Regions from separate parts of the Homo sapiens genome. Here regions 1 and 3 are each linked to region 2. The links are contacts of gene promoters, found by promoter capture Hi-C in human tissues and cell types (Jung and others, 2019). All regions are on one chromosome and are shown on one strand. The core of a region is centred on a gene start or on the middle of the fragment in contact, and the rest is flanking DNA. Distances in the headings are between cores, read along the strand shown.

Region 1 (4,112 bases), core at 1,286-3,785, 480 kb before region 2:
TACCAGGTACAGGGCAGGCATTAAATCAATGTTGATATTTGCTGAATGCAGTGACTGGCATTGGGGTACCCTACAGCTCTCCTCACGCTGTCTCTAAACCACCTTTTCTCCTCCGGATTACATTTGAAGCCCCTCATTTGTAAGAGTCACTATTAGTAAAAACCTTAGGGTTGCCTCATCAAGAGAATGAGAAAGAAAATCTGTCAGAAGAGTAGACAGTCACCACCAGGGTAGGCATGTGGCTGCCTCATGCAGGGCCAGGGCCAGGGCCATGGCTGTGCCTTTCTTCTCTCCCAAGCTAGAGAAGAACGGAGGCTGCGGACTGCCCCCAGCGAATCCCAGTGCCCACATCATCCTGTGGAGAAGCCTTGACTACCCCCAAGCTGAGTCCTGACGGGACAGACGAGTGAGATCCAACTTCCCTTGCACTTCTGGTGATTTATATTGGACTAGAGTCTTCACCAGGGAACCTGTGGACCAAAATCAAAAATTATTTGAAAATTCTGAAGCCAGGCAAACATTTGTGGGTAGCGTGAGAAGAAAAAGATGAACTGTCTGTGCGGAGCAAAGAGAAATGTGCCCTGCTTCCTGATTGGGTGGTCGTGGTGATGGTGGGGCCATCTTTGAAAGAAGAGACTGCTGCTCAGAGCCTTCTGTGTTCTTGATTGCACTGTTCTATTAGCTAAATCATAAGAATTTTTTTAAAGCTTGTTTTTAATACTTAACTGGTACATTAGAACTAGTTTTATTTATCTAGAGATTTTAAAAGGCCCAAAGGCCACAGCCAGCTGCATCGTCCTTGTTGGAATGGATTAGTTTCCCTGTTTATTCATTTCCTACTCACATGTTAAGAGTTGTCCTTTCCATTTGAAAAGTATCTACGTCCACAGTAACTGCCCAGGATTGGCAAACTCCACTGGAGACGCAGCATGTGGAAGAGGAATTAGCTTAACTGGCTGTCCTTGTTAACATTGCCCCAGTTGTCATAAGCTTTTGTCTACCACATATTATCTGTGATATGGAGACAGAAGTCTCACTTCTTTCTGAGCCTGGCTTCTGTCTGTGCTAGGTAACTTTTTGCACTATTCTATTGAGAAGTGAAGCCAGTTGGACTTCCAGGGTCCAGTGGGGACTTGGAGAACTTTTCTGTCTTACAAGAGGATTATAAAATGCACCAATCAGCACTCTGTAGTTAGGATTGTAAAACGCACCAATCAGCACTTTGTGGCTAGCTAGAGGTTTGTAAAATGCGCCAATCAGTGCTCTGTAAAAATGCACCAATCAGCGCTCTGTGTCTAGCTAGAGGTTTGTAAAATGGACCAATCAGCACTCTGTAAAATGTACTAATCAGCAGGACATGGGCGGAGACAAATAACGGAATAAAAGCTGGCCACACCCAGCCAGCAGCGGCTACCCGCTTGGGTCCCCTTCCACTGTGTGGAAGCTTTGTTCTTTTGCTCTTCACAATAAATCTTGCTGCTGCTCACTTTTTGGGCCCGTACCACCTTTAAGAGCTGTAACACTCACCCTGAAGGTCTGTGGCTCCATTCCTGAAGTCAGCGAGACCGCGAACCCACTGGAAGGAAACAACTCTGGACACAATATCTATGCCCTCAGTCATTCCAGCAAACTTGTTCGGTATGGACATTTCTTAAATGGAAATAGCTACTGGCTGGGCGTGGTGGCTCAAACCTGTTAATCCCAGCACTTTGGGAGGCCAAGGCAGGTGTATCGCTTGAGCCCAGCGTGGGCAATGTAGTGAGACCCTGTCTCTACAAAAAATAAAAAATATAATATTTTAAAATGGAAAGACCTAGGTGCAGCGACTTGGCCTAGAGTTGAAAAGCACTTGAATGTCAGGTAGATGGTGATGTCAAATGGAGAAAATGCATTTTCCTTCCTCACTCCCTTGGACCTCAGTGTTCTTATGTGTCAAATGCAGATATTGAGGGAGGAATCTTCTAGAGTTATTTTCAGATTCTGATGTTCTCGAATCTCTCTAAGCTTTGTATCATCATAAACAGTACTTCCTGTTGGAACAGGTGCAATTCTTGCTGTGGCAATACCTATACCAGGGAAGAAACTGAAAATCCCCCAGAGTCCCCAGCTTGTCAAGGAGGCAGGGAAAAGAGCTCTCTTGACTGAGACTCCGGAAATGAGTCATGCACACTGCACCCTGGAGGACACATCTTGAACCAGGGATGAGGGGCCCATCCTGTACAGGGGACAGAAGTGGGGAAGGTGCTTGAGCTTTTTCTGCACCTGTCCCTTAGACGTTCTCCCTACTCCTGGATGCCCAAGGACACCATTAGAAAATGGGCTCCCCACACACTCTCCTAATCCCTGTAAGGAAGAGAAACTCCTGGAGGGGGGATTGAGTTGGGTAACAGGGGAGGGAGAAGCCTGTTCTGAGCAGAGAGGAGGTTAATTAAAGGGGAACCAAAAATAGCCTCCTTCTGGGTGCTGTTCATGGCTCCAAGAAAAGGGGCAGTCAGTGTCTGGAACACAGCAGAGAAGTGGAAAGGAGGGCTGACTTTGGAAATGGGTATTACTCGGGAATGCTTGTATTGAAGGTGGGGGAAGATGGGGTCTTGTGAGTCTTTGCCTTCTTCTCTCCTCACATGGTGGATCAGGGTTGGATTAGGGCAAGTGGTATCAGGCGCTCTACTTGTCCCCTGGGACCTAATGGGATTCCAGAAAGACAAGTGAACCCAGCTGGAGATGTGTGCGTGCCTGGCTGTACTCTACCTATGCCAGCACCCCCGGAAGTGGAGGGGGCCATTCAGCCTCTGATAGTCATGTGCTCCTCTGAAAGTTAAGCTGGGCTTTACATGAGGCAAAAATAAGATGATTGAGTAGAACGAGGGAGGGGGTTTTAGTACATTGCCCAAATCCCTAGAGGCGAAGGCATTTAGCAATGTCCATTGCTAAAGGAATCTGCTCTTCAACAAAATAAGGTCATTCTTAAACATCTTTATTGAGTGCCTACTGAATGCTTGGACAATGGACAAAGATGCTTATAAAAAAACTTTTCTGTGGGCCCTAAAGCATGCTCTCTGGGTCTGCCGGCCTGATCCAAGCTCATTAAAATTCCAGATGTCGGAAGGAGGCTGTGCTCCATCCCATGACTTAAGCCCCCCTTGGTTAGTTCAAAGCAACCTCTGCTGCCCTCATGGAAAGTGCCAGGTTCATGCCCTCAGCTGCACTTCAGTGCAGAAGGGTGCCAGGTGGGTCTGACTCCAGGGCATGGTGAATTTTCTTAAAGCAAAGGGTACTTGAGCCCCCATTGTGTGTGTGAATCCTCAGAAAATGTGTGTGTGTGTTTTTTTTTTTTTGAGGATAGTGTTTGTAGCTTTTACCAGATTTAAAGAAAGAAAGAAAGAAGAAAAGGAAGGAAGGAAGGAAAAGAAAGAAAGAAAGAAAGACAGAAAGAAAGAAAGAGAAAGAAAGAAAGAAAGAGAAAGTAAAAAAGAAAAGGAGAAGGAAGAAAGGAAGGAAGGAGAGAGAAAGAAAAAGAAAGAAAGAAAGGAAGGAGAGGGAAGGAGGGAAGGAGGGAAGGGGAAGGGAAAGGGGAAGGGAAGGGAGGGAAAGGCAAGGGAAGGGAAGAAGAAAGAAAAAGACATGGGAGGGGAGGAGAGAGGAGAGGAGAAGAGGGGAGGGGAGATCAAGCCGCTTTCCCAGGTCCACCAGCTGCTTCACAGCTCAGGGGCAGGGTGGAGCCATTCCTTGTTAGGTCTCTGCTGTCACTTTTCTTATCCTACATACTTTTCTAAAAGCAGGGAACTGTACAATCCCTCCTGCCGGCTTAGCCATCTGAAGGCTCTTTCTTGACTGCATATCCATTCATTGCCATGGAGGGGGAATACCAGAAGAAAAAATCACCAGGTCGACCCTTGCTCCCTGTCTTCAAAGGAGATGTCTCCAACAGACTTCCTTTAGGGCCGGGGGGCTTGTGGCTTTGGCCAGCCATTGTGCAAGCAAAGAAATAACTCCAAAGCTTAGCTCCTGAAAGCAGGGAGCAGAGGGAAGCCATTGCAGTGTCTGGAAAGAGGGCGAGGTCCCCTCTTTTCTGGGTAAGGAAGTGGGAGTGGGGGTGTGAAGCTGGCTGGGAC
Region 2 (4,137 bases), core at 1,303-3,802:
GTTAGCTGGGCGTAGTGGCGCGTGCCTGTAGTCTCAGCTACTTGGGAGGCTGAGGCAAGAGAATCGCTTGAACCCAGGAAGCGGAAGTTGCAGTCAGCCGAGATCATACCACTGCACTCCAGCCTGGCCACAGAGCGAGACTCCGTTTCAAAAGAAAAACAAAACAAAACAAAAAGTGGAACTTTATGTTATCTTTACAAAGGGAACTTAAGCACGGCCTTTGGGTAGAAAAGGAGAGAGCAGAGAGCTCCTCCTATGCCTGTTGCTTCTTATTTGCTTTCAGCTCAAAACAATCCTTAGCCTTATTTTCACTCGTGTCCGTGTGAAGAGACCATCAAACAGGCTTTGTGTGAGCAACAAGGCTGGTTATTTCCCCTGGGTGCAGGTGGGCTGAGTCCGAAAAGAGAGTCAGCGAAGGGAGATAGGGGTGGGGCCATTTTATAGGATTTGGGTAGGTAAAGTAAAATTACAGTCAAAGGGGGTTGTTCTCTGGCAGGCAGGGGCTGGGGTCACCAGGTGCTCAGTGAGGAAGCTTTTGAGCCAGCATGAGCCAGGAGAAGGAATTTCACAAGGTAATGTCATCAGTTAAGGCAGGAACCGGCCATCTGGATGTGTACGTGCAGGTCACAGGGGATATGATGGCTTAGCTTGGGCTCAGAGGCCTGACATTTATTTGTTTGTTTGGAGACAGAGTCTTGCTTTGTTGCCCAGGCAGTGGCACAATCAGAGCTCACTGCAGCCTCGACCTCCTAGGCTCAAGCAATCCTCCTACTTCAGCCTCCCAAGTAGCTGGAACTACAGGCACACACCAAGCCTGGCTAATTTTTTTTTCGTTTTTGTAGAGATGGAGTCTCACTATGTTGCCAGGGCTGGTCTTCAACTCCTGGGCCAAAGCGATCCTCCTGTCTTAGCCTCCCAATGTGCTGGGATCACATGCCTGAGTCACCACACCAGACTTCAAAGTGGCATATTTTAGAGTGACATATTCTGATCCCCTTTACTAGCAATTATCATTATTGCAATTTTACATTTTTTGTGTGTCTGTCTTCCTCACCAGTCTGCAAACAGTACCTGGTTTTGCACATCTCAGCGTCTAACCCTGTGCCTAACACATAGTAAATGTTCTATAAATAATTGTAGGATGTGTAAATAAAGGTGTTGAACCTGGGCTTTCACTTTTTTTTCCTTGCCTTGTTACTACCAAAAAGACAGCCACCCAAGGGACTGGATTTCTATTAAATCCACCCTTTACTGAGCCCTGCTGCTCCTATCTCTGGAGGTGGGTCCTCACCAGAACCCTAGTCCTGTATAGGAAACCAAGGAGCCAAGTGCAGACCACCCAACTAACCTTAATTATAGGACTGGGGATGGAGGGATGGAGGGAGAGAGGAAAAGGCGCAGTAAAATAATGTGCGCAGTGGCTCACACCTGTTGTCGTAACCGAGCGAGTTATAGAGAAACACCACACTTTGAGACTAATTCAGGAGTCCTTTATTGCCGGCGACCGAGAGACGACTACAGCTCAAAATTCTCTCGGCCCTGAAGAAGGGGCTAGATTTCTTTTTATACCTTGGTCTAAATAGGGAAGGGGTAGTCTAGCTGAAGCAATTTTTACAGAAGCAGAACAGGCAAAGAGTTAAAAGATAAATGGTTATAGAAACAGTTACAGGAAAATAAACAGTTCCAGGTGCATGGGGCTTAAATTATCACAAAGAGATAAACGCAGGGGCTTTGGGTACCATCAACCGAGCGCGTTCCCAGGAGCTGCTGGTACAGCTTGCCTCAGTATCTTATCAGTAAGCACATTCCTGGATGTGCTTGGTGTCAGTCTGCACCAGTTATGTCCTTAAGGGAGGGGGACAAGGTGCTGCAAGCGAAGAAACCAAAATGGAGTCTGTCCCGCTCTCTCAGCTAAGAGCGAGTCAATCAGGTTAAAACAAGGTAGGGTATCAAGCTGTAATCCCAGCGCTTTGGGAGGCCGAGGAGGGCAGATCCTTGAGCTCAGGAGACCAGCTTGGGCAACAAGATGAGAGTCTCACACCCCGCCCTGTCTCTACAAAAAACAAAACAAAACAAAACAAAAAAAAGCCAGGCATGGTGGCTCATGTCTGTGGTCCCAGTTACTGCGAGGCCGACGTGAGAGAATCACTTGAGCCCTGGAGATCGAGGCTGCAGTAGCCGTGATCACACTCCAGCCTGGGCGAAAGAGACCCTGTCTCAAAAAACAAACAAAACAATGTGAAATTAAGCCAAAAGCCATCACACGTGCATCCAAAGGACGGCCGCTACCCGCGACCCCTTCCCAACGCACGCGGGAGGTTGCGGGATCAGGGACAGGGGCTTCAGCAGGGAGCCCCCAGACCGGCCCTGACAGGAATTCAAGACCTGGCGCCTGCTCATTCCCCCAGTCGGGGCGGCGGCGGCAAGCCTCGGCCGGCGGCGATCTGCACACCCGCGGAGAAGAGAGGCAGGGGGTCGACCCCACAGCCCAGCCCGGCGCGTCCCCCGCGCCCCCGCGCGAGCCCGAGTCGCCGGCGGAAGTGCTGCGTCGCGCACTTCCGGGTGTTGTCTGGCCGCCGTAGCGCGTCTTGGGTCTCCCGGCTGCCGCTGCTGCCGCCGCCGCCTCGGGTCGTGGAGCCAGGAGCGACGTCACCGCCATGGCAGGCATCAAAGGTGGGCCTGGGTTGCAGGACGCGGGAGGGCTGGGGCCGGCGGGGGAAGATGGGCCGGGGGTCCCACGCGGCCCCCGCACTTCCCCTCCGGGCTCGCGCGCGCGCGTGGGGTCCCTGCGCCGGGGAAGCGACCCCCGCCCCGGCCCTGCGCTTGGCCCGGAGGTGGGCGCGGCGCCCTCGGGCAACGGACGGTTGCGACCCCGGCTTCGCCCCGCAGCCCCCACTTTCTGCCGATTTCGGCAGCCTCTCTCCCACCCATCGCCCCCCGGACAAAATATGAAGTGGTTGGCGGTCAGTGAGGAGTCCCGTCGCGACTTGGACGGCCACACACGTTTTGCAGGAGTTTGCATCCGAGAGAGAGGCAGGCAGAGCGTGGGATTGAGAAGGCTGAGGCTGCTAGAGATGCCAGCTATGGAAAACCAGTCATTTCCCACCGAAAGGCACAAGTGCGGTCTGCGGGCGCTGCACGGGTCTGCCCGAAACCTCGACCCCACGTCCACCCCGGCCGCCCGCGCCCGAGGCTTTACAGGCTCCCGAAACGGGTGCATTTTCATCTGCGGTGTCTGGACCCTAGAGTTGATCCTGTAGGCGACCCCAAAGTGCTCCTGGCTCTCTTCCCTCTCCGCAGTTGCACCCTGAGGCTTTTTCAAATTTCAAAATTTTTCTTTTTTTCCTTTTTTTTTTTTAAGAAGATAAAATACTGGTACAACTTAATGAAAAACTACTGGCTTATTCATGTATTTTCTTTTAAAAAAAGGAATGTTGCATTTGTTCCACCTGTTAGGTAGTTTTGTTGTCAGTGTGATGAGAAGCAAAGTTTTCAGCTACTGCTTAACTAATTACATTGATTTCTTGACCTGCCGCTCTGTAGAAGGGCAGTCAGGCAGGAAGCAGGTAACTTTGGGAGCAGTGGTTTTCTTTGTATTTTTTCTTCTCTAAGGAAAACTTAATCGAGTTTTTTTTCAGGGTCACAGTCTTACTGTTTCTTGTTTATTTTCAATGTCTGAAAACATTTCATTTCCCATATAAAACCTTGTCATTTAAGCAACTGGGATACTTTGTAATCTCCTTTTGAACTATGATAGACTCTAAACCCTTATGTGAAAGGCAGTTATTGTGAATTGCTGTGGTTTTTAGGATGTTGCCCGTTTCCCTGTTCTTCCCTGTTTCTTCAGTGTCAATAATGCGGGGGTCTCTTAAGAAAATAGCTTTGTAATTTACTTCTCCAGACCTAGGGAAATACTGCATTAAACTGATGAAGGTGCCTCAGGTGAACTGCACTTTTGATTTCAGCAGGATTTTCTGGTTGTTATGAGTCAGTATGTTTCTTTCTCTTGGCCTAATATCTTTATATTAGGAAGGAGTGTTGCTGTAATTAGAGACCATTAGGCATTGCTTGAGCCATTTGTCTATTACTTTTTGATATATTGGATTTTCTGGTAACTCCCAGGTTAGAGAAGTGGTC
Region 3 (4,196 bases), core at 776-3,275, 450 kb after region 2:
CATCAGGGCCTTGCCTGCTCCTTCAGTGGGGAGTCCTTGTGAAGGGCTTGTGCTGTGGAAAACCAGTCTCTCTAGCTTTTGTAATTTTCTCAAGCAACGAAAAAGCAAACAAACGCAAAAAGCTTATTCTGCTTTAATACCCATTTCCGTCAAAGGAGTGTATGTGTGTGTTAGGAGAGTGCTCAGGCTCATACTGGAAAGTTAGGTGTTGGTGAGGACTGCTTCAGGTGCGATCCTGACCTGGTCAGACCACGTATCTTTTGATGTTTATGGTAATTCCACATTCCTTCATGATGGGAGAAGGGAGACGGAGATGATAAGATGTATCAAGGGATTTATCAAGTGTAAGTTCACCTTTATCTCTTTTAGGCTTCTGCCTCACTAATACGTTACTACTACTCAGCAATTTTGAGTTTAGGGGATTTCAGACCAAATCCTCTTTTCTGCTGGGCTGGGTTTTGTGCAAATATCAATGGTGAATTGTCTCTAAGCATCAGTAAAGAACTAATGGGAAGTAATGCTTCAGGATAAAAACAGAGAAAAGTCTGGGAAACATAAATTCCAGCAGTCAGGCTGACACTGAAATCTGATTCCAGCTTATCTCTGTTGCTTATCTCTTTAGGATCAGATATCTTAAAGGACATACTCATTTCATTTTTAAAAGTTTCTAAAGGAAGGACCTACTGATCAGGTAACCACCTCTACCCACCCCACCCCAGTTAGCCAGGAAGATAAGGAAGGACCACTGACAGGCTGCAGGCCAAACACGTTCCCCCTGAGGGCTCTGCCATTTGGAATCAGTTGTATGTATCAGTTTTATGGTCTTCTGCTATCACAGTGGGAACAGACAAGCATGGGCCACAGTGTACTGAGGATTTAAAAGACTCAGAATGTCTTAAAATAGCCTGGTCGCTAAACAACAATAATAGTTTGGCATTCCTGAGAATGGTTGTTTGTTTAAAATTCAAGGCATTGGTTCTGGTAGCAGTTAGTTTCCACTAGCTGGGCTCCCACGTGAGTTACTCTGGAAATCACATGGTCTCATCACAACAGGAAGCACAGGGATCTATTAAGCCCCTCCCAGCCCCTCTGAGGGTGGTCCCTAAGCCTTGGGCTACAGGCACCTACACACCCTAGAACACAGTAGATGCTGTGGACCTGATCATTTTAAGGACTCTGGTGTTGTTGCTTTCACCCTGACTAATAATGATCAGTCCACTCTTAGGGGCTTATTTCTCCCACCTAGATGCACAGGCAGTCTGTCTTTCTATCACCAAGTCCTGAGGAGGTAGTTTTTACTGCCTTGTTGAGAGGAGAAGGGAGTCAGGAAGGCCAACCAGCAACAGTATGTTAAACCACATTGTTGGGGTCCCATCATATCTGAAAATGGGTACAAACTGCCCTCTGAACGTATCATCAGCAGTCAGCTCCTGACTCCCTACCATCCTGAGAGAAGCTCGTGCCATGCAAGCTGGCTGTGGGGAAGCCTCACACAGGTTCTGCTACTTTCTGGTTTCGCCATAGAGCAGTCCCACATCACACCGAGCAAAGCAGTTTTCTGTTGCTAGCCCCCTTTCTGTATTGAAGAGTTTCGGGGGATGGGAAGGATGCAGAGACACTGGGCCTGGAATGGCTCCTTAGATGGTAGGAAGGAATAAAGTGACTCTGTTGACCTTGCACTGTAGACTCAGGGAAAGTACTGAATGGCAGAGTTACTAATGACTTCTATCAAATCACCTTTTGCTGACTCCCGTGTTAGTCCTGGATAGCGTCCTTGGCACACTTGATTTCAGATTTTGACAGGTGATAAAAGCACATATTGAGATTGCTGCTTCACAGGGCCCAGATTCCTTGCTATTGACTGATGTTATTTTTGCCTTTCCTGAGAAGCTCCCTCATGTGTTTGCTGTTACTTTTAATGGATTGCTTCCTGATACATGGGAGGCCCAGGCACTTGCCCTTCAATCTGGCCAACTGCAGCCTGACCTGGGTGGAATTGGAGCTGCCTGAGGAACACTTAGACCAGGCACTTGGCAATATGACTCACTTTTTTCCCCTAAAAGTTAGTCTGTAAAGAGCAACTGGAAATGTTCCTGTTTACATCTTTGTGGAGTGTAATTTTAATCAGGATTCTCAAGGTTTTTCACTTCAATTCTCTGAATTTTTAAGATCTTAAATGCCCTGTGGTCACAGTATTTGGCCCTGTACTTCTGAGGGCTACGTGGAAAATGCTTGATGATCATTACTGACTTGTCAATAGTAATTATGCCAATAAACAGAAAAGTCTTCCAGTTCTGGTCTGTTGAGGCCCTGCCGTTAAGCCATGGTTTTCCCAAAGGCTCTGCAGTGGGTTCTCATGGGATGTCTTTCATTGGTTCTTTCTCTCCCTTTTCCTCAGAGGGTCGCATTTCCTGTTTTGTGCAGGAAATTCCCACTGTTTTGGGTTCCCCAGCTACAGTCGGAAAGACATCAGAGTGTTCAAGGCGGAGTCCAGGCCTGAGATCTCAGCAGGCCAGACAGGCAGCAGATGCTTGTTGCTTTTCTTGTGTTATATTTTTCGTTCCCTTACTTAGCATTTGTGGGACCAAAGCCAACAAACAACAGGTTGTTAAAAGAATGAGAGTAATTTGACTTCCGACAGTGATTGGGGCTCGGGGTTGTTGGGTGTTTTGTTTTCTGATTTGAAACTAGCTGTATGGTAACCACTAACTCTCGCCTTATTCTTTTCTTGCAGATGAGCTCACAGTGCCTGCACTTTACCCCAGTAGCCCTGAAGTGTGGGCCCCGTACCCTCTGTACCCAGCGGAGTTAGCGCCTGCTCTACCTCCTCCTGCTTTCACCTATCCCGCTTCACTGCATGCCCAGGTAATTGATACCCATCGGCCAGGACTTCACTCACTTCACCACCAGTCCTTTCAAACTTGGTTCCCGAGAGCACACCATACAACTAACACCTATCCAGCTAACAGATCCACCCTCAAGAGATTAATGATCCCCTCTAAATCAAGCTGACACTCCTTCAGGACTGACGAGGATCGTCTGACAGCAATGATATCACCCACTGCCTGATGTTTGCCCCAAATGACACCTCTCTCTTCCTTAATGATCTCACCTCATATCGCACATGAGAGACCGGGGCAGGTTTATCCACCTGGCTCCCAGCTAGCTAGAGGGCATCACCAGAGTGTATACGTGTGTGCCTTGTGTGGAAGGGCTGCAGAGGAAGGTGTGTGCTAGGAGAAGGGGATATGTGCGTCTGTGCGTGTTTCTGTGTGTTGAGAGTTTTCCACTCTCGTGTACGGTGAGAAGAATCTCTGACCAAAGGGAAAGCTTCCAGGGGGGAAGGCTGTACTTTCTTAAATATGTTACAGGAAAGATTAAGGGTTCCTTCTCTCCATTTTCAGGAAACCCTGTAGAAAAGGAGATACAAGATAGTGTCTAAGATGGAATTACAGGTCAAGGTAGAGATCTCTATTCTGACCAGCTTTCTTTCTTAGTTAAAAATAGCCTGATTTTTATAAACAAACTTCCTGTTTCTCCGCAAAGATTACTGTCTACATACTAACACTTCCTCTCCCCTTGGAGAAAATATTTCTCTTAGCTTCGCTTTTAGTGCAAGTGGTAGTAATCAGTGTAAAGATTCACCTCTGGAGATCACCACTCATTCTTTGGCCTGCAAAGATTGATGACCAGTAACAAATAGAAAGTACGTACGTAGGTTTCATTTGTCTTTCTGCATGTGTAATTCAGCCTTTAAATTTTAAATTTTTAAAAATTATTAGGCTGGACAGGCAGAGTTTTCGTTTGCCTGTTTTGCTCAGTGTTTGTTTACAAGGCTGGGTGAAATAAACAGCTTCCCAGAAAACCTCCTTCTGACTTAAAACTCTTTTATGTTGTACAGAATTCCCTGTCTTGATAAAGACCACCTAGAAGCAGCCCCCAGCGAGGGTTCTTGAAAGTCATGGGGTCGAGATTGTTGTTGGCTGAACATCTTTTAATTCTGAGTTACCAACACGTTGTGCGTGCATTGATGACCCGGCTTCCTGGCCTGCCCTTGGTGCCTGAGCCCCAGTAATGATTGCCCTCTATGTTGGGAGAAGAAGGGAGAAAGTAGTACAAGTAGTGAAGAAAAAAATGTAGGTGGTGTTGGTGGTTGAGAGTACATGGCACAGAAAATAAAGGAGCCAGGATTACCT

What was found. The method cuts DNA at HindIII sites, captures the fragments that hold promoters and counts their contacts. A contact is called where the count stands out against the background at its distance.
Region 1: a fragment that was not itself captured here is called in contact with the fragment with the promoter of LEPROTL1 in region 2 in 1 of the 25 tissues and cell types used here (mesenchymal stem cells).
Region 3: a fragment that was not itself captured here is called in contact with the fragment with the promoter of LEPROTL1 in region 2 in 1 of the 25 tissues and cell types used here (adrenal gland).

What each region holds. Positions count from the first base shown.
Region 1 is chr8:29,612,607-29,616,718 of GRCh38, forward strand. No RefSeq gene overlaps it. Among named protein-coding and RNA genes, the nearest start is that of LINC02948, 52 kb to the left of the region's middle. The HindIII fragment of the contact is 3,374 bases long and covers 849-4,112 here.
Region 2 is chr8:30,092,856-30,096,992 of GRCh38, forward strand. It overlaps LEPROTL1 (leptin receptor overlapping transcript like 1), which reads left to right and starts at 2,553. Exons shown (of 4, transcript NM_015344.3): 1 at 2,553-2,673. The coding sequence starts at 2,658. RefSeq lists an enhancer at 116-285 and a silencer at 2,401-2,860. The HindIII fragment of the contact is 5,830 bases long and covers 1-4,137 here.
Region 3 is chr8:30,541,760-30,545,955 of GRCh38, forward strand. It overlaps RBPMS (RNA binding protein, mRNA processing factor), which reads left to right. Exons shown (of 9, transcript NM_001008710.3): 6 at 2,735-2,865. Among named protein-coding and RNA genes, the nearest start is that of SMIM18, 95 kb to the right of the region's middle. RefSeq lists enhancers at 1-20, 21-630, 1,239-1,846, 1,847-2,454. The HindIII fragment of the contact is 5,733 bases long and covers 1-4,196 here.